2 separate regions of the Homo sapiens genome follow, and region 2 is linked to region 1. The links are contacts of gene promoters, found by promoter capture Hi-C in blood cells and fetal thymus (Javierre and others, 2016). All regions are on one chromosome and are shown on one strand. Each heading gives the region's core, a stretch centred on a gene start or on the middle of the fragment in contact. The rest is flanking DNA. Distances are from core to core; before and after follow the strand shown.

Region 1 (4,079 bases), core at 1,097-3,596:
CACCAGTTCCTCCCCACATCAGAAACACTCCGTACTGGCAAATTTTCGGAGGCTCTCTCCCGCCTCCATCCATTGGAAAGCCAAATGCTGCGGCCTGTGGCGCGGGACGGGCTTGAGAACATGCACCAGCCTGACCGGGGACTGGGCCGCCTCCCCGCGACCAGCAATCCTCCCTGAAAAAGGAGTCTTTGCAGATATTGCACCAACGTGCCCACAGGAAAGAGAAAATAGGTGCTCTAAGCATGTCGGACCCCAAATTAAGAATAAAAGTCCTCGAGGGCTGCAACGCTCTGGGGTGGGGGGTGGGGGACTGGTTCAAAGAGTAGGATTCTTCAGCTAACTTTTCCCCCCTCCCCATTCCTTGGGGCATGTGTCATGGCCTGTGACACACCGCCAAGGGAACATGGATGCCAGGGAAATGTCTACACACGCTACACGTTTGTGACATGCCATGTAAGCGACACCCTATTTCCTGGCTGGGTTTTCTTGGCACAGGTGTGGGCAGGCAGTGGATTCGGCCCCCTCCCACTGCGCTTAGTAAACAGGATCACGGTGGCCCCAGGGAGGAGTGTGCATTCTGGGGAAGACAAGCTACACCCCCAATGAGGATGGGACCCCCACGGCAAGCCTCAGGCCCAAGCCACAGCCGGTATTTGAAACTGTCCTTGTTTCAAAACACAAAGCATCCTGTTCAGGCTCCTACCCGCCACCCCCACTCTCCCCTCGACCCCACCACAGCTGTCTTTCTCCACGTACGAAGAAGGCCACCATTTGCAGATCTGATTTCAGAAACAGATCAATGGTTTTTCCTCTCCGACTCATCCAGCTGACCCAGTCCTACCCATGTATTTAAAAACAATAACAAAATTAAACCTCCAGCAACAAAACACACACGTATACACACACTCTACAGACAATGCCGGACCAGGGCTCCACCAAGCAGCTTCTAGGCTAGAACTCGACCACCGCTGGGTCCTGAGATATTCCAGGACCACTGCCCCCTCCCCCTCCACTTCCAACCTCTCAATGTGCGAATGAGATTTTCAGAAAGGGAAGCACCCCGTTCTGCCTGCCAGCCCTGGCAGGAAAGAGAATAAAGGACGGGTAAACCAAACAGAGAAACTGGCTTCTGGAAATTCTTTGGGTTTGGGGGTTTGGAGGTTTTGTTGTGTTGTTTGTTTTTTTTTTTAAATCTGAGGGGTGGTATTTTGTTTTCCCCTCCCCCACCCCTCAGATCCAGATGGGCCAGGGGCTTCCAGAGAGAACCCCCACCACCATCAGGGCCCAGCGTCGGGTCCATCCTCGAGTCCCAGCCACCAGAAACACAAGAGCTGGGGGCAGAAGGTCCCCAGGCACCCAGCCTGGCGGTGGGCCGAGTCTCCAGCATTTTAAGGGTCTCTCCTGAGCCCGGTCGGCTGGTTTGGGCTTCAGACTCCAAAATCGAGCCCCGCGAGCAGGCCAGGAGCGAGGCGCCCTGGTTCTCCCCGTTCCCCCGGCACCCCCCACCGCCCCCCAGGCCCTGGGCTCCAGGTGCAGCGCCAGGGGGCAGCCAGGGAGGGCGCATCTCGGGCCCCGAGGAGAGGCGGGGGTGCAGCCGCGCAGAGCCACTCACCGTGGCGGACGCCAGGCTGTTGTCGGCCAGCGTTAGGTGGTGCGGCTCCCAGCGCCTCAGGAATTTCGAGGTGAGGATCTTGCTGAGAAAGGTCCGCGGGTGCCGGATGACACAGACCTGAATGTCGCCCTCCTGCAGCAGTTTGTACCTCATCCCGTTGCAAAGCAGAAGAGCCCGGCGGCAGGGCACGGCGCCCATCTTCGTGCCTTCGGGGGCCGACACGTCGCCCCCCAGCAGCGGCTTGGTCTCCTCGATCTGCCGGGGGTCGCCGCCGCCGCCCGAGCTGCTGGTCACATCCATGGCCGCGCCGGGGGAGGGGGCTGGGGGCGGGGAGAGGGGGCTGTCCTGGGCTGCTGGGGCGGCGGGGCCCCCGGATCCGGCGGCCCGCACCCCCCCACCCCCCGGGAAGGTGGGGGGGTGTGGGGCTGGGGGCGCCCGCAGGGGAGGGGGCGCTGCCCGCGGGGGGCGGCGCGTGCGGCGGGCTGGGCCGGCCTCGGCGCTTCCTGCGGGGCTCCGGGCTTCCTCCTAGCTCGTCGGGTGCATGCTCGCGGCGGCTGACCGGGCTCGGCGGGCGACGGGGAGGGGCGGGGGAGGCCGAGGGCGGGCCGGGGCCAGGCGCGGAGGGCGGGCGCCGGGGTGGGGGCGGCGGGGTGGGGGCGGGCGTGTCTCGGGGCCCCGCGCCGCCGCGCGCGTGTGTACAGAGCGTGTGTCCGCGCGGCCGTCCGGGCGAGAGTGGCCGCGGGCGGGGCGGGCCGCGCGCCGGGCTCCCGGAGCCCGGGGCGCCCGCGCGATTGGTCCCCGCAGGGTCATGTGCCCGCCCCTCTGACGTCAATGGCGGCAACGGCGGCGGCCGCGGCGGCTTCGGCCTCTCGCGGGCGGAGTCCGCGGTCCGGGCGGGGTCGCGGCCCACGACGGGGAGGCGCGGCCCGACGGGAGGGGCAGCCCCTGGGGAGGGGGCTGGGGCGGGCGAGCCCCGCGGGGTCCCGGCCCGCCCCGCCTGGAATGTGGGGAGGGGGCGGGGCGCGGGGGCGGGGCGCGTGACGTCACGCCAGCCGCGCCCCCGCGGGTGCCCGGGCGGGAGCCCAGCCAGGCTGCCGGAGCCTGGGGGCCCGCGCCTCACCCACCCCCGCCGCCCCCGGGCCGGACTCGGACGGGTAAAGAAGGATACCCGAGGGCCGGGGGCTGGGTGGAAGGACGGGGACTGGAACCCTCGACCCCTGACGCCCCCTCCGCTGTCCAGGCTGTCCAGCGGGCTGGCCAGATGGGGCCGTGGGACGGGGACGCCTTCCCGACTGAAAGTGTCCCCGCGGTGATCCGGAGGATGAGCCCACCCTGCCCTGTCTCCCACTGCGGGACCCAGCCGGCCTCGAACTCCTGGCCTTTGACGTCTGCTGGCTTTGGCCTTGGGGGTCCTCAAACCTTCTGGAGAGAGGGGACGGTCCGCCCATCCCCCTTCTTTCTTCTGCCCAGGGAGACAGAGCCTCTTCTAGGAACCCACTTAAAGCACCCCCCAACCTACACAGCCACCCCTCTTGTGCGCACCCCAGCAGCTCCCCCTACTTCACCTTCCCTGGGACCCCACCTGGTCATTTTATCTGAGTTCACAGGCCCAGCACCAGCCCACGAGAGAACCATATTCGATTCTCTTGTGACCCAGGGTATCAGGAACTGCAGCCTGGATGCAAAAAGCTCCCTTTCTGCCATCACAAGCAGCCGGCACCTAAGGCCACCTAGCAAATGCTCAGCTCCTCAGCCAGGTTTTCTTATCTCCACGTGCTCCTGCAGCTAATAACGTTAAAACCCTAGATTTTTGCCTTTTTAAGTGAAGGCGCCTCTGTAGTGAACACATGAATGTGTGCAGCGTGTGTTGAACTGCGTCGTGAACACTGCGGAATATCCACAGCATCTGTGCCGTTGGTGGAAATTATTCACCCCCCCTCTCCCAAGAACAGGCAGCATGAAGGTGCTCCCCAGAGGACCCTCTCCCCGAGCCTGGCCAGGGTTTCAGGCAGGGGATGAAAGGCAGGTCCCAGGCTGCATCCCTCACCAAGGAAAGAAGACTCACATCCAGCCTGCCCAGGAGATGCCTCCTTGGGGAGGCACAATTAGATTAGAAAGTTAGAAATTCCTTAGCTCCCCACAATTTGCTGCCATTTCCTTCCAGTTTTGAGCTTGAACAGCCTTGAGAAAACCACCAAGCATGAAGGGGCAAGCCCTAGATATGTGGGTGTTGGGGGGTGGTTGGGGCCAAGAAACCCCCCAGTCCATTAAGCGGGTGGGATTAGATCCTTTGTTCAAATATTTTCATTGAGCTCCTGCTGTATGCTGGTCACAGGCCAGGCACTAGGGTATTAATGGTAATGACTATAATAACCACAGTGGCCAGAGGCTTCCTATGTGCTAAGAATTTTGTACGCACACATCATTCTCTTCTCACACCCTATGACATAGGTGCTGTCCTCATCCT
Region 2 (4,079 bases), core at 1,345-3,844, 130 kb after region 1:
AACAGCATAAAATAAATGATTGTTGTGATACAACTCTACAGGCCTGGATTTATACAACAGAATACCCAATAAAGTCCTGTATGACAGGGGAATGGAAATGCTTTAATATTAACATAAAACAAAACTTTAAATGACACAATAAAGCTATAAAAACAGAAACAGGTCCTCCTCCTCACAACACATACACATGAGGCAAAACAAAAATAGCATAGAGCTACATAACTTAGACTTAAAGGGGATTTGCTGTCCATGTAGCCCAACCACCTCACTTCACAGATAAGGAAGCTAGAGCCCAGAAAAGTCGCTCATGATGACCTAGGCTGGATTTGAGGCCCTATGTCTCATTCTATCCTCACTAGACCTGCCTTCTCTCAAAAAATAAGGGGGGGTCGGGGGGAAGCCACTTACATTCTTAGCTGACTCATCAAAGGATCTAAAAATCTTAGGAATCTTTTTTTTCATTTTCTCTCCAGGACTGAGAGCTAAACAAACTTTTGTTGCAATAGGTCTCCAGAAAACCCTAAATTTTACAAGTGATCACAGGACTGGAAACCTGTACAGAGCCACCATAATGTCACTGCAGAAGCACATAGCCGTTCATTTTCAAATCCTTTTCACATACATTACTCACCAAGAACCACAGCTCAGGAGAGAAATGGGTCTGAACTTTGCATCAGATCAATGGGACTGTGCCAGAATCGGAAGAGCCTCAGACATGAAGCAGACCAAACTGTAATATTCAAAAGAAAAATAAATTTCCTGCAAGCCGCAGGGAGCTTTCCCCAGAAGGTCTCAGAGTTGATGAGAAAGAAAAGGCTCTGTGGGTGCTTATGACTATGAATTCGGTTTTGCCATTCTTAGAAAGGTTGTTAGATATATATATATATATATAATCTATATCTATTTTTTTTTTAATTTAAGAGACAGGGTCTCTGTCACCCAGGCAGGCTGCAGTGCAGTGGCAGTCATAGCTCACTGCATCCTGGAACTCCCGGGGTCAAGGGATCCTCCCGCCTCAGCCTCCCGAAGTGCTGTAATTACAGCCATGAGCCACTGCGCCCAGCCTGTCAACTACTTTTAGGTTTAGTTTCCCCAACAAACCAAAGAGAAAATCTCACCCAGGAACCAAAAGGAGGAAAAGCTTTGGGAAAGGAGCATGCTGGGAAAGGGGCATGCATGCCATTTACTGAGCTGAGGGACCGCAGGAGGTCCTGCCTCCTTCCTGGAGCAGCTGCACCCTAGGGCTGCATGACACGTGCTCTCTCTACATAACCCGGGGATGCCAGTCCTCTCTGAGCTGACCATGAGGGTGTGTTGCCAAAGCTGAGTTTTCTGGCCTTTTCCTTTTATATTTAAAATCTTTCTAATATGGTAGGATTGCTAAGGGTGTCAGCAGGAAAAACAAGGGCTAGACCAAAGATAAAGCAGAATAAAAGATTAAACCAATAAGTCAAAAGACTTTTCTATATTAAGTAGAAAGTATGCCAAACAAGTTACTTTAATTCCCAGTGTGACAGAGTTGGACTGGCTTCCTTTGTTGGGCACATAGTAAGCAAAAGACAATACTGCTCCTATTTTTTATATACATGATTTATTATTGTACAGACTGGGTCTCACTATGTTGCCCAGGCTAGTCTCGAACTCCTGACCTCAAACGATCCTCCCGCCTCCACCTCTCACAGTGCTAGGATTACAGGTGTGAGCTACCATGCCAGGCCATACCACTGCTTCTAAACCACACAATCACACAACCACTTATGACAGTTACCAACACTAGGCCAAACACAGACATTAAACAAAATCAGAATTTTATAAAACTTCAGAGATTACCAAACTTTTGAACATTCAATTCACAGATTAATGATATCACAGATCTAAATGCTTAAGTTTCAAAAGGGAAAGATAAGAAACATCAAGTTCTAGAATACATAAATATATTTTGTTTCAATATAATTCTCTAAAGTGCTATTCAAACAAACAAGTACATTATAAAAGCCCAATATTATTGGTATTAAAATTACCAGTAAAAATACAAAATTAACAAATTTCTTTCTAGTTAGTGATACAGATTCGTCAAATTACTTTGAAACAGCTTCGGAATTGATAATTTTTAAAAACATCCCAAGACATTCTATCACTTCAATAGCCAAATAAACTTAAAGCAATTCATCTGTCACTGATGAAACACATATTGACTGATTCATGTTTATCCACAAAACATAAAAAAAAAAAATCTGCCTTCTCTTTAAAGATGATTGAAAATGGAAACCAAAATGACACAGTATGTAAAAGTGCTTGATAAACATTTTAATTCTAAGATATTGTAAGCCAGCTAACAGTAAAGTTTACACAAAGAGAACGGTGAAATACAAGTAATGCTCTAACGTGGTAGGGCAAGAGTAGGAAGGCGGTTAGCCGTAATTAATTTGGAGTCTAATCCTAGTTCAACCATTAAGTACTAATAACCTCATAACACAAGTCACTAATGTCCACTGAGCCCCTATTTTCTTATTTAGAAAGTGAAAGAACCGGACTACAGATATTTCCTAATTCAATGGGTACTACCTTTGAAGACATGGGAACAGACCTATGAGGTGTCAACACTATTACGTATTTCTTCACAGGTGTGATTAAATGAGAAGACTCATTTTTATCCCTCATTCATCAGATTAGTGAGCTGAAGCCTTGTCATCTACCAGCAACTCACAGCTAATATGAGTAAAAGCTGGAAGCACAAAGCGGGTCTTCAAACTCTGAATCCAGTGCGTTTCTCAATTAGGTATAACTGAGCGTCTGTGTACTATGAAAATGTGATGGTGCCAATTTTCTAATGTACACATTTGCTGTGGTAGAAAGAAAGGCAGTCATTCATTCAATACATTAACTGATAGGCACAGTTCTTTCTGGGTGCAAAGAGTAAAGCAGTGAATAAAAGAAAACACCGCCGGGTGCCACGGCTCACGCCTGTAATCCCAGCACTTTGGGAGGCCGAGGTGGGCGGATCACGAGGTGAGGAGTTCGAGACCAGCCTGGCCAACATGGTAAAACCCCGACTCTACTAAAAATACAAAAATTATCCGGGCGTGGTGGCGGGCGTTTGTAATCCCAGCTACTCGGGAGGCTGAGGCAGGAGAATCGCTTGAAACTGGAAGGCGGAGGTTGCAGTGGGCCGAGATCACGCCACTGCACTCTAGCCTGGGCTAAAGAGTGAAACTCAGTCTCGAAAAACAAAACAAAACACCACGACCTCATTGAGGTCACACTGTGGTTGGGAAAGACCACCAAAGTAAATGTGTAAAATATGGGGTACGTCAAAGTGGTAAGTGCTATGGAGAAAAACGAACAAGGATAACAAGCAAGGATTCGGCAATTTGCAATTTACTTCTTTTAAGCCAAACGGATGCCATTTAAAGAACTATAACAATAATGCATCTAAAGTAGTTTTCTTCAGCATTTTCCCAAACAGGGAAGACTTTGGTCTGCTGACTCCAATTTGGGATGGGTTGCTCAAACCTCGGAACTGCCAGCTAGAAGCTGTCTGTCACATTAGCAATCCAAATTCTGTACTAACGATGCTACCCCAGACCCTACTGCCGCCCCGCCCCCCCACCCCTCCACACTCCCCACCGCCAAAGAGCGCAAATGGATTCACAAAACAAATCCAAGAGAAACCAGAAGTTACAAGGGCACTTGAATTTCTTCTAAGTTTAGCACAGATATCTCCCCAATGCAAAGGTTAAAAGTGTAGCGTGCGTGGTGGTTTTGCTGGGACAAAGCGCTAAGAATACACATCATTTTGCTTTTTCTGACCTGTCAATTGTAGTGATATTCTCTACCACTAGCTTATATTTAACCAGCTTACTGGTCAGTTTCTCCAGTTTTTAGCATTCCCCCCTTTCCTTTTATTAAAACAGCAACCTAGTTTGCAAGAAGGTTGCTAAAAGAAAAGATAGTCTCCTGCAAGATCTGATACACTTGTATAAGCACTGTCTTATCAACCTTTTAATTAACCTGGTTAGTTGAGTTGGCAAATCAGGTTAAGCTTTGCTTTACTAAAGTATTAAAATGCCCTTTGTCGC

The links. Contacts are between HindIII fragments. The CHiCAGO score rates a contact against its expected background, and 5 or more counts as called.
Region 2: a contact is called between a fragment that was not itself captured here and the fragment with the promoter of CMIP in region 1, in 2 of 17 cell types (neutrophils and fetal thymus). The highest score is 6.4, in neutrophils.

What each region holds. Positions count from the first base shown.
Region 1 is chr16:81,443,075-81,447,153 of GRCh38, reverse strand. It overlaps CMIP (c-Maf inducing protein), which reads right to left and starts at 2,346. Exons shown (of 21, transcript NM_198390.3): 1 at 1,613-2,346. The coding sequence starts at 1,912. RefSeq lists enhancers at 1-42, 43-808, 2,973-3,505 and silencers at 1,354-1,653, 2,084-2,133, 2,204-2,553, 2,664-2,763. The HindIII fragment of the contact is 9,361 bases long and covers 1-4,079 here.
Region 2 is chr16:81,316,020-81,320,098 of GRCh38, reverse strand. All of the region lies in intron 1 of GAN (gigaxonin), which reads right to left. Among named protein-coding and RNA genes, the nearest start is that of GAN, 3.1 kb to the right of the region's middle. The HindIII fragment of the contact is 2,901 bases long and covers 1,144-4,044 here.